Regions from separate parts of the Homo sapiens genome. Here regions 2, 3 and 4 are each linked to region 1. Evidence: promoter capture Hi-C in human tissues and cell types (Jung and others, 2019). All regions are on one chromosome and are shown on one strand. The core of a region is centred on a gene start or on the middle of the fragment in contact, and the rest is flanking DNA. Distances in the headings are between cores, read along the strand shown. Region 1 holds the start of NCAM2 (neural cell adhesion molecule 2). Region 2 overlaps LINC01425 (long intergenic non-protein coding RNA 1425). Region 3 has its middle 49 kb from the start of LINC00317. Region 4 has its middle 85 kb from the start of LINC00317.

Region 1 (4,527 bases), core at 1,055-3,554:
TTGTGTGTGTGTGTGTGTGTGTGTGTGTGTGTGTGTGTGTGTGCTGAAGTCATTCTTTGGTATCCACAGGGGGGACTAGTTTCAATACTCTCACAGATCCTTGGATGCTCAAGTCCCTTATATAAAATAGCATAAATTTGCATATAACCTCCTGCATATTACATCATCTCTGGATTAGGTGTAATACATTATATAATGCAAATGCTTTGTAAATAGTCACTTTGCTGTATTTTTTTATTTACGTTATTTTGATTGTATCATTGTTTCATTTTTTTTAAAGTTATTTTTCATCCATGGTTGGTAGAATCTGAGGATGTAGAACTGTGGACGCAGAAGGCCTACTGTGTAGCATTTATCAATGCCCAAGAGAAATGAAGAATTGGAGTAAATAAATGAGTCACGGTCTTTCACATCTATAAATGTGCTACTTCCACCCTTTCCTGCAAAGAGCTGACCATGAGTTTACTTAAGTGTGGTTAGTGCATTCCAGAACCAGTAAAGGGTGTGAGAAGGGTACCGTGGCAAAATAACTTTCTAAATATATTGTCTGCTATAAGATCAAGAGGAAATAAGAGGTTCTCTAGCTGTGAGGTGCTGAGAGGGCCATTGCTTAAGGCAGTTCAGCGATGGTGAGTTGAGGGCCGCCTTTCCCCTCCTCTCTTCCTGATAACCCCATCCCAGGATGCCAAGTGGACGAATCATCTGTATAAAGCGCTCTGCCTGGGGAGGACAAATCGCAGACGGTATCTCCCCTATGCATGTTAGCCTGTGTCTACTCTTGCCCCCTGCCCTCCCTGAAGGCAATGCACTGCCCTTTTCAGCGTGAAATCCCCAGGCTGGGGCTGGATTCTGAGCTCTACATTTCTACCTCCCCCCTCTCCAACCCCCGCTATTTCTATGTCCTCACTGATAAGGAAGGAGCTAGGGTCCTTGTGGAGGCCGGGGCGAGGCAGTTGAGTTTTCTAAGGAGCCAGAGAGAAAGTGCAGATGAAAGGACCCATCGTCAGCGTTTGCAGGTCGCGGTAACCCCAGGCCAGATTGACATGGGCTCCGCACCCGGGCCGGTGATTCTGCCTCTTAACCGCTCTTGCAGGAGAGGTGACGTTAATCTCACAAACGTTTTCCTACCCTTCTAGGAGAAATAACGATAAGCCCCAATCTTAAGGAGCAGAGAGTTAGTTCCGGGCGTTTGCCACGGCTCCCTCACTTCAATTTACACTCGCACACGCGGGTACGTGGGTGTTCGGGGTAGGGCACTGATCTGGGGAAGGTCTCCCCCCCGCGACCCAACTCATCTTTGCACATTTGCAGTCCTCCCTCGGTGCACTCCTGGCGGGGATCTGGCCAGTGCAGCGCACTGGGACCGAGGGCAGAGCCCGCGGAGTGAGGCCAGGAGAGACTTCAGGCCTCTAAGGACACAGCTGAGGCTAAGGCTGAGTTGAACGCAGCCCCTCCCGCGGCTCGTCCCCTCTCCAGTGTCTCTCCCGTAAGGTGCCGCTCCCAACAGCAATGGGTCGAGATGTAGAGGAAACACTCTGTACGTTATTTTTCCGCCCACCCTTTAGCGCCTGAGGAGACAGACAGTGTAGACTTTAGGGTACAATTGCTTCCCCTCTGTCGCGGCGGGGTGGGGAGCGTGGGAAGGGGACAGCCGCGCAAGGGGCCAGCCTGCTCCAGGTTTGAGCGAGAGAGGGAGAAGGAGGTCCACGGAGAGACAAGAATCTCCCTCCTCCCACGCCCAAAAGGAATAAGCTGCGGGGCACACCGCCCGCCTCCAGATCCCCCATTCACGTTGAGCCGGGGCGCGCTCGGGGCGGTCGCCTGCAGTATCAGTATCAGCATCAGCATCAGCATCAGCATCTGCATGAGCATCAGCTCAGCTCAGCTCAGCTCAGCATCAGCTCAGCTGTCCTGAGGCAGCCGGCGGCTGTGAAGGAGCTCCAGGCTGCCCCCATCCCCACGCCCTTCTCGGCTCAGGGCGTGCATGAACCTGCGGATGGCCGGCGGGCGAGTGGCGCCTTCGCGATCGCGGCCGCCCCTCTAGGCGGAGGCACCGGGGACCGAACCCGTGACTTCGAGCTCCACTGCGGACGAATCCCGGGACCGCGCGCCTCGCGGAAGAGCGGCCGCCGTGCAGCGCGGAGGGATACGCCTCGGCCGCACCTCCCCTCGCCGCGCCCCCGCCCCCGCCGCCCTCCCCGCCCGGCTCTGCTGCCGCCGCGGCGGCCGCTGCTGCTGCTGCTTCTGCCGCCGCTGCCGCCGCCGCTGCCTGGATATAGTGCGGCAAGAGCGGAGCTTGCAGTCACTTTGCGAGGAGGAGCGCGCGGGCTGCGGGCGGCTGGGGCACCGCGGGAGCGGCGGCGGCGGCTCTAGCAGAGGCGGCCGGGGCAGCGAAAGGTTCTCTCTCCAGGGCTGGACTTAATAACTTTGAAACTGTCCACCGGTGTCACGTCCTGAACATGAGCCTCCTCCTCTCCTTCTACCTGCTGGGGTTGCTTGTCAGTAGCGGGCAAGGTAGGAGTGTGGCGCTTTATTGCATTTACTTTCCCTCCCCCTTCCACCCGGCCAAGAGAGGCAAAGAGGGAGGCGCAGGAAGAATGAAATGAAAGAACTAAAGTTACAGTTATTGCTGTTGTTGTTATTATTATTTTCGTTCTTTCTCCTAGCTGTCCCTAAAATTGTATCTGTTGTGTGGAGACCCTTAAATAAGAGAAGGGAAAATACAGAATTGGAGAGGGGAATCGGTGAGCAGGATATCCAGGGAAACCGCTTCTTCTTCTTCTTTTTTTTTCCTCTGGGATTATGGCTTTCTCTTATTTTTATTATCAGAAATTGGATGAGTGTGTTAACAGTGAAATATCTGAGGTTGCGGAAGGAAAGGGCACGATGGTGTTTTACAGAAGCAGCAAAAACTATCAGTGTTAAACTCATTTGCAAAATATCTGCTGTGTGCAAGACGTTCGATTCTTGGAGACTCTTTTTTTTTTCCACCCCTTTCCCAAAACCCTAATTCCTGACTATGAAGTGAATGATGATGGCTTATTTCTGTTGGAAACTAAGAGAGGGGCCGTGGATATTGTGTGTAAGAAAGCAAATGGATAAAACTAGGGATGTGTTGCAGTCATTCATTTTGACCCCAACCCCTTATTAATACAGAAAGGTGGAATCATTTTATAACATTACATTGTAATTACACCTGTAGAGGATTTTTGGGGTTGTGGGAGAACTGGTGGAAGCTTTTATCTCTTAAAAAAAAAAAATGAATAGCCTGGTAGAATAACCTGAGAGGGAATTTGTGGAAGCTATCACTGTTTGTCTCTAGAGAGATAGATATGAATTTATCTGGCTGTTTAGATAGTAAACACTCACATGAAATATATTTACAATAAATGGAAGCATTTTCAACTGTCCAGACAAGTTTGGACGTTTAATTAGGGACACAAAATGCTAAAACATGCATTGGTGAAAGTCTTTAAAGGAAAAATAAAATAGCACTAATTTTGAGATATGTAATGATTGCAAAGAATGTTATGTTGTTAGTGTAGTGTGAAATTGGTTTTTTAAAATAATATAATAAATTACAAGACAAGTTAAAATATCCCCAAGATATTCAGTTCTAAGCATTTTTAGCCTCTTCTGTATTGCTCGTTTGGTCCAGCAGGGGGTGGTAGAACTCCATTTTAAGCCCAGAAGTTGGTTTCTGCTCTTCCACAGAGTCCTTCTATCATTCTTCAGCAGGGCTTGACATTTTGGATGTGAAGCCTTCCTTTTTCTGCCCTTCTCCTCCCCACAGCTATAGTGTTAGTGGCGGATGAAACACGATTGGATGCAGATTTAATGTTCAGAAATCAGTATGCAAATGTTGGATATTCCTATAGTTTGTAAAGTGTCTTGATAAGATTCTGCTCATTTTCCCTTCCTAACATAGAGTATGAAATATTTCAGTCTTAGCAAAATTGCAGATATGTCCATCTGAAGCTAATACTAGCCCAATTCGTTAATTCAGTGGTTCTTAAGCAAAGATCAGCATGCACATATGTCCTACAGATATGCTTCTTTAATTTTCAGATAGCTGCTGATTGTGTTTAACTGTTCATTTATAGCATAGACAGGTATTTTTGAGCACCAAGAAACAATCCCTGAAAATTGCAGTTAAAATACAACTGCAATTAAATAAGTGTAGGTAGTGTGGGGCAGAATGGGAGCATAATAGGAAACAAGTTTATGCAGACTTAGGATTACATTGTGAGTGGTTTGGAGAAGAAAAATGTCTCAGTTGTGGAATCTGAATTTATCATTGTAGAGGCTAAGTGTGTTGGAATTTGGAGACATAGGAAATTAGAAATGTTTAGATATATAGGTTTAAATAGTACACAGAGACATAAAATTTGGATGTGTACATGTAACATAGATGTGAAATTGTGATTCAGCTAATTTGTAAGTCAGGATACGAGGTGGTTATGAAGAGGCACTCTGAGACAAGCATCTCTGAAGGGGAGCCCATATTCACTGTAATGAAACAGGGTA
Region 2 (4,527 bases), core at 1,265-3,764, 760 kb after region 1:
TTTCATAAGGTTCAACTTTACTGAAATGTTCTACTTTGGCTATAGGCACGTTAATGTATGAGTGTATTAATTTCTATGCTTCATAACAAATTATCATACACTTAGTGCCTTAAAACAACACACATTTTGTATTTCAGTTTCTGTATGTCGGAAACCCAACTATAGCTTAATTGGACCTCACCAGGCTGCAATCCAGGCATTGGTCGTGGCTTTAGTCTCATCAGAGGCTCTGCTGGGATCAGAGTCACCTTCAAGCTCTCTCTGGTTGTTGGCAGGATCAATCTTCCTGGATTTGTAGGACTGTGATTCCCATTTCCTTGACGGCCATAGCCTGCAGGCCTCTCTTGTCTCCTTTAAGTGCCTGAAGTTTTTATTTTTTTTATTTGCCACATTAGCCACTTTATAGATCCTCTCACAAATGGAAGCATACTTTCAAATCCAGCAAAGGTGAATTTTCACGTTCAGTCTGCTAGAATGAAGTCTTACATAATGTAACCACGGGAACCATGGCATAGGCGTTCCATCAACTTTGCCATATTATGTAAGCAAACCATAGGCATGACACGCCATTACTGTTGCCATGTTTGCCATATGCTAATGGTTAGAAACAAGTCACAGTTGCCACCTCCAGCCAAGGGACAGGGGTGGCAGGGAGAACACACAGAGGTGTGATATACCATGAGGAGGGAATTACTCGGGATCCTCTTGGGGAGGTCTGCCACAGTGAAACATAAAAACAGGTCATGTTGGTTATGTTGAAATATTTTGGAACCTCCATTCTTGAAGTATTCTGGATCAATATCTAACAGTTTTTTCTAGAATGCATTAATTGAGAAATATTTTTTTTAAATGTCCCAAACAATACATTCATCAAACTGCTAGGAAAAAAAAATGAGATTATACAACATTTTATTAAAAAGAAACTTAAACTTAACAAGGATTAGTAATCCGGGGGAATTCCAACAGCAAACAACACAGATAACTCTTTTCCTTTCATAGTCATATTTACATTATTTTATTTCGAACTAGATATTTTCCTTAATATATGTACAGCTTGGTTGCTTGGCTTGATTTTACATATATATGTATTCATGTATATGTGAATGTGTGCATAACTTTAAATATATATTTTTCAATATCTGAAAGCACTGAAATGGGAACTTTACTGTTATGGTGAATAGATATTTCTATGTTGAAATTTTGACTATCACAAATTTGCATTAAGAATATGTAAATCCAAAACAAGCTATATAATGATCTCAAACATTGCTTTTTTGCTACATTAAGTTTAATGGCTCAATCTCAAGCTCTCTGTAGGAGGGCAAGTATTTCCACCTCTGCAAGGCTTTGCAGAAAAGAAAATTTTGGTAGAATGGCCACACTCATATGCATACCTGGCAGCCAAGGGTACATGTGCTATATTCCCTATAACATAATGTGTCACTTCATAGTGAGAAAATGTCCACAGAAGAAGATGACCAATGCCCTACCAGGCTTCAAGACAGACAATGATTATGACTAGAATGAGATGATCCTGGAGCTTGTCAGTGGAACCTATGCATCAGTAGAAATGCTGTCTTGTTAACTATTAGATCTGCAAAACTATAACCAACAAGCTAAAGCTGTTCATGTTCTCCTGTAGAAATGCATCTTTTATGCTGTATTTACAATTATTATGCTGTGAGTCAGGATTTCCGTCTCACATCCATCACCCAATTGTGTAAATCCTGATTTGGGACAGAATTCCAATATTTATATGAAACATGAAAATGTGGATCATTTCTCTGTTGTTATGATATTTATCCAATGGCTCTGTTTTGTTCCACTTAGGGAAGCCTATTTAATTAAAAAAATACGTGCTGATTTGTGCATGATTTTGTCAGGAAGTTATTTGTTGTTATGGCTTTGTATTTTTGCTGTTATGTATGTACTCTCTCGGTACCTGGCTACACAAAATTAATGCTCCTAACTTATCCAGATCACTGTGTCTTGGTAAGCTTCTCCCATCCTGTTTCTCTTACTCTTCTGTGCCCATCTTCATATATGAACTAAAACAATCCTCTAATTTGCTTAATGTCTTTAAAGTGGAGTATGTACCTGAATCAAACAGAATATTTGCAAAACTTGTCACTCATATTTTGAGTTTCTACTTTAGTGTCTTAGTGCTTTCTCGATATGGGAGAATTCATGTCCTCCATTCAGAAGTATGCACTAAGTAAGAGGTATCATGTCTGGTTCTTGATTAGGTACTAATCTTGAAATACTATCCTACAGTAGGTTAGAGCACGTATATCTCCTGATAATATATTGAATATGATAGATTTAAATAATTGGTTAACTAAATACTAAAGCAAATTGCTGCACGTATCATTTATTATTCATTGTGTAGAAAGTGCCTGACTCAGTGTTTGGAAATTGTCTGACTTTTCCTCATATATAGTGTGGTTTCATGTTATTGTATATAAGACCTGACATGAACCCTGTTTACAATAATCTCCCAGTGCCATAAAGACCATAATAAATAATATAACCAATTGGTTTCTTTATGCTGTCATTTATTAGGGCATATGGCATTAGTGGAGGATTACCTTGTATTACCCATAGTGCTTAGAGTATGAATCACACATGCACCTTGAAGGAAAAGAGGTGCAATGTAATAAGAAACCAGATATTGAAAATGCAAGTTTTGTTATGTTATTCTGGGTATGTTAACCTTTATTCCTGCCCTCCATATGCACTGTAGCAAAGTCTGCCTATTCATGCTTCATCCCACCACTTCACAGCTATTGCTCCATCTGCCTTAGTGATTAAGCTTTATACTACATGAACTAGACTTCCCCTCCATGATCACACCAAAGCATTCAATTCAATTCACGGGTACTTACAGTCTACAGAATGGGCTTTGAAAGAGGATAATACCTAAGCACCTCTTGTTTCATAAAAATTTGAATTCAGGCTATGTAACTATAGTATAGTATAGACGTTTCTGGAAGATGATTAGTTGTATTAGAATAGAGAAGCTACTATCAATCATGTTTCCCTGAAGTTGGAAGAGCACATTACTCCCTTTTAGTGTCTGAGTTACATTACATATGTTGAGGACTGTTATAAGTAAGTTGGAGTTAGTTGACTGGGACTCTGCTAAGCAAGAGAATCTTAACAGGTATAGTTATTTGAGTAAACAGGGATGGGAATAGTTTTTAATAACGTAGAATATGAGTTTTCTTTGTATAAAGGTAAAATGCTGAAATATTTCATGCCTGATGGTCATTACACTGTATGTGATTTATACCAGGAATAAGCTGAGCCTCTTCCCACCATGCCATTTCATATCAGCCATAAATGAGGAAACAAATGAGAAAGTTATTATTTGCCGTGTGATTAAGTAGTCAGTCAAATCCATTCTGTCTAACAAGCGATTGATTGCTTTAGAATGGGAGCCAGAATTTATAAGGGTGGGGTGATATACTTTGGAGTGTGGGGTATGTAATCAAAATTTTTGTGGTGTATTGCATTTTTCAGTGAAGATCACAACAGTATCTCCATTCCATAAGTTCTTTCTACAGTGCATCCTGTGATAGGGTCTTTGCCCTCTCCCTTTGAAACTCACTGGCTTTTTGTGACTGCTTCAATATATTACATAAAAATGCCATCATCATCCACTGTGATCTTTTGAGATGTTTGCTGTAGAAAAAGAGCCACCACGCTGTGAGAATGTTCAAACAGGCAAAGCAGTGAGACTCCGTGGAAAGGATGTATGCATGAATTTTGACTGACAGTATAGCTGAGATCCCAACTGATAGCTAGTACCAAATCACCACCTATGTGAGTCAACCATTTTGGTAGTATGTTCTCCAGTTCTGAGATCAATTGCTTTAAACTGACCTCTTGAATCAAAGGCAAGCTCCCTACTAAACCCTTCATAAGCCCTGCCCGAGGAATAGATACAGAAACAAAATAATTGTTGTTCTTTCAGGTCAGTAAGTTTTCTGATTTTCTTTTAGCACACAGCAATGAATCATACAATCAGCGACTAATATATTGTGCTTTCTGTGATCTTTTAAAAAATTTTTTATAAATGGAATTTACTAGAATAATACCCTTGAAATGAGTCTTTAAATGTTAACAGTTGTCCAATGGTGGAAGGAGACATTCAAGGGGGGAAAAAGGAATAGATTATGAAACATTTATTTTTGGAGGTTGCAATTATTTAAGAATAGCTAAAGCTGGAAGTCCTAAATAGGACACAGTAAAAGATGACATTGGTGGTAGAAGCAGAAACCTTATGATGGAGGTTATCTATCTATCTATCTATCTATCTATCTATCTATCTATCTATCCCCTTTCTACTAAGGTTAGATTTGATTTTGAAGGTAATACAAAATCATAAAGGACTTTCTGCAGAGCAAGAGATAGTTGGATTTGCATTTTAGGAATATTTCTAGAGACAGTGATGAAATATCATCACCAAGTATATATATCATACATACTCTAACCGAACCCGAACCCGAACCCTAACCCTATCCC
Region 3 (4,527 bases), core at 1,272-3,771, 690 kb after region 1:
GCAAGAGAGAATGAGAGCCAAGTGAAAGGAGAAACCCCTTATAAAACCTTCAGACCTCATGAGACTTATTCACTACCACAAGAACAGTATGTGAGAAACAGTCCCATGATCCAGTTATCTCCCACTGGGTCCCTCCCACCACACAAGGGAATTATGGGAACTGCAATTCAAGATGAAATGTGGGTGGAAGCACAACGGAACTATATCATTGATCAAAGCATTATTGTTTTCTCTGATAAACTGATCTAGAAAGTGCTGCTTGTGATCAGCTTTGGTGACCATGATCAGTGAAATGGTTAAGGAAATCTACAGATTTTGTAGGTTTGTGCCTTGACAGACGACCGGTATCTGTTTCTCTTTTCATGATGAAGTATCTAACAAAGCTCTGTCCAAAATTTTGAATTTCTCGTTAAATGCATCATGATTATAGAACAGAGGTTACAATCAATTATTCAGTCACACAATCACTCTCATCAGTCATTAAGGTGCATACCTGGTGTTCCAGTTATTCAGTGTGGTATAACAAACTACCTGGAACTTAATGGCTTGAAATAGTCACCATTACATTATGATTGTCCATTCTCTGCATCAATAATTAGGATTTGGCAAAGAGGGAATGGTTTGTTTACAGACAGACTCCAATGTCTGGGAATAACTTGAAAATATAAAGATTTCTTTTTAAAAATGTTATCTTTAAATTTATTTTTATTCCATATATTTAAGGTGTACACAATGATGTTTTGATATACACATGAATTTGGATCTATGTTTTAAGATCACCGTCTGTATCTGGTGAGGGGTAGGAGAGAATAGAAGAATGCTGCTAGAGATGGCTCCTTAAACAGACCAGAGAAAAGAGTCTGAAGTAGTAACTTAGCTAGCATGTTTAATCTACATAGAGTATAACTAGAAAATAGTCATATTCTAGGTTGAGATACAAGAAATGGGATGTGTAAGAGAAAGATAATGAAGATGCAGATAAATTCTCCATTTTCAGTGTTATTTGGTTCTACATAGCATATTGGTAAAAGACTACAACTACTTATTTTTCTCTTTATGATAGCATCATTGTAACACATTTTTTAACCCAAATGCATACATGATTGTAGCAGTTTGCTTAATAACTCCTTTTTATTCTGAGGCTTCCCAGGCAAATGCTAAGTGAACATAAAATGAATGTATGTTATCTACACATTTAATATAAAAAATAAAATAAATGAATGAGTGGATAAATGTAGAGTTTTTAAAACATAAATGATTTAATGCATTCAATAAAACATTTTTATTATAAATAGTTCAGGGATAATTTTTAATTCCTTATTTCCCTAAAAATAATTCAAGATCATTATTATAAAAATATTCAACAAACCACTAATCATAGAATTAATATGAATGTAGTAATCCCTTCTGTACCTTGGAGTCAAAATCTACCACATAATTATTAGGCAATTAATATTTTGGAAAAAAAGTTTAAATATGCTAATTAAAGTGTTTGTTTTTAATTGTAAAGGGTCATTACCAAGTAATGTGCTGGTAAGTGTCACTTACAAATGGTTAGGAAATGAAAGTTATGAACAATAAAATTAGTTCAAGTTCATTTTTTGTCTAGGAATATTAAATGCTTTATCATTACACTTAGTTGTAACTTCACTTCATCTGACTCCATATTAATGATGGCAGGGATTTCAGAAAAAAATAAGTATGATATTCCTCATGGATTGCTCATCAGAGATATTGATTATGCTCAATTATTTCCTATAAAGGCAGGATTAAAGTTTATGAGCACAAATGAGAGAGCTTGGTTTACTATACTGAACCTTTACTTGAGAATATGTATATCATATATATATGTAAATTTTTGTTGCTGTTCAGTGTTATTTTGGTCAATTTAAATAGTCAAATATGGTTATTTTCTGCTAAAATATCAAAATATCTTAATCCTCTGTATTATTATGATCGTTCATTCATTCAAAATTTCTTGAGCACCTTTTAGGTACTTGAAATAAACCACTAAACACAACAAAAGTTTCTTTCCTTCTCTTGTAGAACAACAAACACAAAATAAGTAAATTATATGATGTGTTTATATGTGATAAATATTATGAAAAATAGAAACATTAGATGAAATAGAGGTTTGGGGAGTCAAGGATGTGTATCATGGTTTATAATTATAAAGATATTGATCAGAATCAATACAGGCCTCATTGGGAAGATGTCATTTGAGCAACAAATAAAAGGAGGAAAAACACTGATTTGTGAGGATATTTGCAAGTTCATAAAGCAGAAGTGTGCCTTCCCTGTTTGCGAAACCTCTGAGATGTTGGTAAGCCTGAAATGAGATATTCAAGGAAAAGGTACTGAGGGAAAGAGGATGGTAGAGTGTGCAGATATATGTAGGAAACTGTGGGCTACTGTGAGGAATTTGCTTATACTCTGACTGAAATATGGAGCCAGTATTAGGTTTTGACATGATCTGACAGAGTCACTCTAACTACCGGGTTAAGTGTAGGTTTGTAAGAGTGGACTTAGGGAAATTAATTAGGAGGCCATTGCAGAAATACAAACGAGATGACAGCGTCGAGGACCAACATGTTAGTAATGGAGGTGGTGAGCAGTGGCCATTTTCTGCATATTTGCAATGTAAATGCCGCAGAATTTCCTGGTGGATTGGAAAAGAAAAGAGATATGTGAAAAAGGAAAAAGAAGAGTCAAGAAAGAGGCTTGTTTGGGCCAAACGAATTGGAAGGGCCGCGTCGCCATCAGCTGGATGCATAGAAGACTGCAGCGGAGCAGGTGTGGCAGGGAGTGGTAGGGAGGAGCAAAGCTTCTGTTTTAATTAAGTATGAAAACTTACCACATATGTGGAAGTTTCTGTTCATTCAAAAAATGTTTTGTTTGTTTTGGTAAGGCTAACACTGATTTTTTTTTAAAGCATTTGGTTTAATAGTCATAGAATTGAGTCCATTTCTATCAGAGCATTGTATTGTGGAAAGAATTTGCCACGTGACTTGTTTTGGTTCATGGAAGAAGAGATGAAGTAACCCACGCCTTGAAAAGTGCTCACCCAGTGAGACTTGCCCCACTCTTCTCTCTGAGATGCTTTTTTGTCATTGTATGAACAGGTCGGGGATAATATTTTAAAAGATGAGAGACCACTCAGAGAAAGTGCCTGAGTGTCTTAGTTCCAGCTGGACCCTGGAGGGAAAACATCCAAGACCACCCAACCCCGATCAAACAAACAAACCACCTAGCCAAGTAACAGTCAAAGAAAATCTTGTTGTTTTGTTACGTGCTACTAATTTTTTGAGGGAAATTGCGGGGCACATTGTGACGTAGCAAAGGTTAATTGATATAAATACCAACCAGGTTATTTATCTAGTTAACGTCATTGATATTATAATCTAGATGATTACAAAATCTCCAATTCATTGAAAAAAGATGTAACTTTTGAGACCAGTAAGACCTGACTTTGAATCTGGAGCTTGATACTTTGCAGTTGCCTGACTCTCATCTCTTAATTTTGCCGCACTTGATTTGGGCCCTAAGAAAAAAATGGGAACACAACCTTGTACAGCTTTTGTAGATGAAATAAACTTTATAAATAAAATATATTCAGCATATACTACATGCTCAACAAACTATTATTATTTTATTAATTACATGTCATTATTTAGACATCATGTAATGTACTTATTCTGTTTTTTACATTTATATTATTATTCTTATTTTTAATATTTTGCTGTCAAAGCTTTAGAGCTTAGTACTGAGATTCTCAACTGTCATTAATTACATTTTTGAGCATTTTAATAACATTTTATGGAATTCCAATCAGCGTTGCAATTCCTAGAAAAAAAATGATTATCTTGCTTCCTTCCTTGTATATGTACCCATAGTTGATCTTTCTTTCCTGGCAGAACTGTGGGGAAATTGAGTGGCCTTTGAAGGCATTCATGACAGCATCTGTAAAAGATTTACAGCACTTAATCTGTCAGAGATTTGTCCTTAGAATTAAAGAGCAGTAGGATATCTTTAGACCACAGGTCGCATGCTTAGTTACATTCAAAATATCTTGTAAAATTAGTTTCAATGTCATCATACTAATGCCTATGTCAGCTTTTTAAAAACAGTGGCAATGATATACAGCCACCTAAACTTTGACTGGAGACTATAAAATAGATGGAGTGGTCAAATTTAGTCCTAAGTAACCTTTTATTCAATGACAGTAATTACTTATTTGAACCTTTAATTCATTTAAATTTGCTTGAACTTTCAAGTGACTACCCACGTATTTTCCATTTTGACAGATAAAATTCAATGACTAATATGTAGAACAACCTACCTAATGCTTTGGTGTGATTGACAGTTAAAAATCATAAAGCACCTTTTCCTCTGACAGATTTGAAAAGCTAAATCTTTAATAAGATCAATTTACATTTATTACTTTTTTCACTATTTTTACAGAAACATTCTCCAAAATAACAATTAATGCTCCATGAATGAGATTCAAGAGATTTGGGAAAACATGAA
Region 4 (4,527 bases), core at 1,026-3,525, 650 kb after region 1:
TCACGAGATCTGATGGTTTTAAAAATGGGAATTTCCCTATACAAGCTCTCTTCTCTTGTCTGCCACCATGTCAGATGGACCTTTTACCTTCTGTCATAATTGTGATGTCTCCCTAGCCATGTGGAACTGTAAGTCCAGTAAACCTCTTTATTTTTAAATTGCACAGTTTCAAGTGTGTCTTTATCAGTGGCATGAAAATGGACTAATACAGTAAATTGGTACCAGTAGGGTGGGGCACTGATGAAACGATACCTGAAATTGTGGAAGCCACTTTGGAACTGGGTAACAAGCAGAGGTTGGAACAGTTTGGAGGGCTCAGAAGAAGACAGGAAAATGTTGGAAAGTTTGGAACCTCCTAGAGACTGGTTGAATGCCTTTGACCAATATGCTAATAGAAATATGGGCAATAAAGTCTAGGCTGAGGTGGTCACAGATAAAAATGAGGAACTTTTTAGGAACTGGAGCAAAGGTGACTCTTGTTATGTTGTAGCAAATAGACTGGCAGCATTTTGCCTCTGCCCTAGAGATTTGTGGAACTTTGAACTTGAGAGAGATGATTTAGGGTTTCTGGTGGAATAAATTTCCAAGCAGTAAAGCACTCAAGAGGTGACTTGGGTGCTGTTGAAGCTATTCAGTTTTAAAAGGGAAGCACAGCATAAAAGTTTAGAAAATATGCAGCCAGACAATGCGTTAGAAAAGAAAATCCCATTTCCTAAGGAGAAATTCAAGCCAGCTGCAGAAATTTGCCTAAGTAACTAGGAGCCAAATGTTAATCCCAAAGACAACAGGGAAAATGTCTCCAAAGCATTTCAAAGCTCTTCACAAGCCCCTCCCATCACAGGCCTGGAGGTCTAGGAGGAAAAAGTGGTTATGTGGGTCGGGCCCAGGGTCCCAGTGCTATGCGCAGGACTTGGTGCCCTACATCCCAGCTACTCCAGCCATGGCTGAAAGGGGTACACCTAGAGCTTGGGCTATGGTTTCAGAGGATTCAAGCCCCAAGCCTTGGCAGCTTCTATATGGTGTTGACCCTGCTGGTACACAGAAGTGACGAATTGGGGTTTGGGAACCTCCGCCTACATTTCAGAGGATGTATGGAAACGAGTGGATGCCCAGGCAGAAGTTTGCTTCAGGGGCAGGGCTCTCATATACAACCTCTGCTAGGGCAGCATGGAAGGGAAATGTGGGTTTGGAGTCCCCACAGAGAGTCCCTACTGGGGCACTACCTAGTGGAGCTGTGAGAAGAGGGACATCATTCTACAGAACCCAGAATTGTAGATTCACTGACAGCTTGCACTGTGAGCCTGGAAAAGCCACAGACACTCAACACAAGCCCATGGAAACAGCCAGGAGCGAGGCTGCCTAAGACCACAGGAAGCAATCTTTTGCATCAGCATGACTGAGATGTAAGACATTGAGTCAAAATATCATTTTGGAGCTTCAAGATTTGACTGCTCTGCTGGATTTCAGACTTACATGGGGTTGTAGCCCCTTTGTTTTGGCCAATTTCTCCCATTTGGAATGGCTGTATTTACCCAGTGCCTGTACCCACATTGTATCTAGGATGTAACTAACTTGCTTTTGATTTTACATGCTTATAGGCAGAAGGGACTTGACTTGTCTCAGAAGAGACCTTGTACTGTAGACTTTTGAGTTAATGCTGAAATGAGTTAAGACTATGGAGGACTATTGGGAAGGCATGATTGGTTTTTGAAATATGAGGACATGAGATTTAGAAGAGGCCAGTGGTGGAATAATATGGTTTGGCTGTGCCCCCAAGCAAATCTCATCTTGAATTGTACTTCCCACATGTCATGGGAGGAACCTGGTGAGAGGTGATTGAATTATGGGGGCGGGTCTTTCCTGCACTGTTCTCTTGATAGTGAATGAGTCTCGCCAGATCTGATGGTTTTAAAAATCAGAGTTTCCCTACACAAGTTCTCTTCTCTTGTCTACCACCATGTGAGATGTGCCTTTCAACTTCCGCCATGTTTGTGAGGTTTCCTCAGCCACATAGAACTGTAAGTCTGATAAACTTCTTTCTTTTGTAAATTGTCCAGTCTCGGGCATGTCTGTAACAGCAATATGAAAATGAACTAATACACTCATCTTTATAGATGTAGGTATTGAAATAACTTGTCCACATAAACAAATAGATGAGGATAAGTGTGCTATTCTAGCAATGACATTGAATTCTTTCAACTCTTTTCAGGTGTTTGTAAATGTCTCATTCTAATTCTTCAGCAAATATTATTTTTAAGTGGCCTATCAACAAACAATCCAAGTAGGTAAATTCTTTAGTTTTGTTGAAAACTGATAGTTGGAATCATTTGATTTTCAAATGTATTTATTTTTTATCCTGTCATTAAAATTCTTTATTTTTTCAAAATCATTATAAAAACATTTTGATTGGTCTCAGTAGTGATGCCTAGGATCTTTGTAATTTTCTGGGGCAATCACCCTGCTAGTTTAGTGCTGGGCAACAGATATTTTACTTTGAAAAATTGGGAGAGGTTTATTATAACATGGCAGAAAATTAGAACTTGGGCTGGGCATGGTGGCTCACGCCTGTGATCCCAGCACTTTGGGAGGCTGAGGAAGGGCAGATCACGAGATCAGGAGATCGAGACCATCCTGGCTAACATGGTGAAACCCCGTCTTTACTAAAAAATACAAAAAAAATTAGCCAGGCGTGGTGGCGGGTGCCTGTAGTCCCAGCTACTTGAGAGGCTGAGGCAGGAGAATGGCATGAACCTGGGAGGCGGAGCTTGCAGTGAGCCGAGATCATGCCACTGCACTCCAGCCTGGGCGACAGAGCAACACTCCATCTCAAAAGAAAAAAAAAAGAAAATTAGAACTTGAAGCTCCATCAAATGGCCTTAGGAAATATTTAACATAAAAGATGAAATTATTTAAATTAGAAATTAATTCCCTTAAATTATCTGTGCTCACACCCTTGAATGCCTCCAGGTACTTCACTGAGCACCCAAAATCGAAGTAGTAGACTAATGATCTAACCACCAACAATACATTGGCTGGGCAAACAACTTCACAAAGCTTTTGTTGGCTGAGCATTTCAGATTTCTATTTCTAGGGTCTTTCCTAAATAAAAATTCTAGGGACTGACTAAGGAAACTAAAGAATAAAAAGTCTTTAAAAACAGGTGATATATAATATTTTGTAAATCTATTCTAAAATTCATTAGGGTTGTTCTTTACCAAGGCTGGATATTCTCTTGGGACATAGTCTCTTTTGTGTACAGAACAGTTTCTTATTTTAATTTCCTCCATAATTTAAATCTTGATGAATTTATTTCATTAGCACATTAAATCTGCATAGCACTTACATTGCCCATCTCTCTTAACACAAACTAAAGTAAAAAATATCCTCTGTTGTTTGAGATTTCATTTGGGTAGATTGGGTTCTGACTGATTGCCTGCTCTTCATTACCTCATCACAAGTTGCATTGATTAAGATTAAAGCAGCTACGCTTACATCTTTTCAACATCTTATTTAAAACTTATTTCAAACTTTTGTTCATTTTAGAAATTGTGTATTATATATACTGGGAAATCGTTTCCAAAAATTATTTCCACCTACAATGTATTCACAAGCTCTTAATTTTCACCTTGCCTAGTCTAATGCCTTTCAATCTAAAGCAATTTGTAAATAACTTGATCTTTACCTTCAAATGATAGTTGCAGGAGCTGATAAAAGCAAAGATCAATGGGCCATCTCCTAAAGAAAGGGGTAGTTTTCCTGTCCCAAGATCTTCCCTGCCCCCAGAGCCAGATTAGATCTCTATTCAAATGGGTGGCCATCAAAAGTGATAAGTAGTAAACAAAATACCACAGGTCCAAGACCTCTCATACAAATAAAACTCATAGTCCCTTGTTGATTTGAGGAACCAGGTTATGATGTTTTGCATACACATTGTGTTTTAAATATCTCAAGTGTATAGATCTAAGGAGGTTTGTATTATTATTATTGTAATTGAAAAAGAAAAACTTAAAGCAACCATATTATACTTATCTTAAATTCATGGCATATGTGTCATAAAATTCAAATAATCTTATCACATTATAAAGAAAACACCCATATTGGTGATAATTTGAACAACTGAATTTTCCATTTTTCTGTGAATTGTTGAATAATTAGTAATAAGCAGGTTTTACCCACAACTTAGTATGTACTGAGCACTGGGTAAGATTCTTACCTACATTATAACATTAATAAGTGTAAGTCCATGAGGCATGCATTTTAAACAGATAAATCTGGGATTGACAACACTGACCCACATGGCTCTAAGATCTGTTCAAAACACCTACCTCTCTGAAAATAATAAATCATTTATTCTCTTTAGACTGATTAATATTCTTAAGAAAGATAACTAGAAAGAGGGACAAGTAAAATGGCAGAAGTAATTAAAATGAACATGACCATGTTTTTGTTGCCATAGTTTTTGATGGAAATAATAGTTTTTTCCTCAGTTGCCAACTTGGTTTCCAAGTTTCAGAGGTCATAAGACGT

The links. The method cuts DNA at HindIII sites, captures the fragments that hold promoters and counts their contacts. A contact is called where the count stands out against the background at its distance.
Region 2: a fragment that was not itself captured here is called in contact with the fragment with the promoter of NCAM2 in region 1 in 2 of the 25 tissues and cell types used here (dorsolateral prefrontal cortex and lymphoblastoid cells).
Region 3: a contact is called between a fragment that was not itself captured here and the fragment with the promoter of NCAM2 in region 1, in 1 of the 25 tissues and cell types used here (hippocampus).
Region 4: a contact is called between a fragment that was not itself captured here and the fragment with the promoter of NCAM2 in region 1, in 2 of the 25 tissues and cell types used here (dorsolateral prefrontal cortex and mesendoderm cells).

The regions. Positions count from the first base shown.
Region 1 is chr21:20,996,105-21,000,631 of GRCh38, forward strand. It overlaps NCAM2 (neural cell adhesion molecule 2), which reads left to right and starts at 2,305. Exons shown (of 18, transcript NM_004540.5): 1 at 2,305-2,514. The coding sequence starts at 2,460. The HindIII fragment of the contact is 14,781 bases long and covers 1-4,527 here.
Region 2 is chr21:21,758,150-21,762,676 of GRCh38, forward strand. All of the region lies in intron 2 of LINC01425 (long intergenic non-protein coding RNA 1425), which reads left to right. Among named protein-coding and RNA genes, the nearest start is that of LINC01425, 13 kb to the left of the region's middle. The HindIII fragment of the contact is 4,503 bases long and covers 264-4,527 here.
Region 3 is chr21:21,686,318-21,690,844 of GRCh38, forward strand. No RefSeq gene overlaps it. Among named protein-coding and RNA genes, the nearest start is that of LINC00317, 49 kb to the right of the region's middle. The HindIII fragment of the contact is 3,820 bases long and covers 612-4,431 here.
Region 4 is chr21:21,650,044-21,654,570 of GRCh38, forward strand. No RefSeq gene overlaps it. Among named protein-coding and RNA genes, the nearest start is that of LINC00317, 85 kb to the right of the region's middle. The HindIII fragment of the contact is 5,301 bases long and covers 1-4,527 here.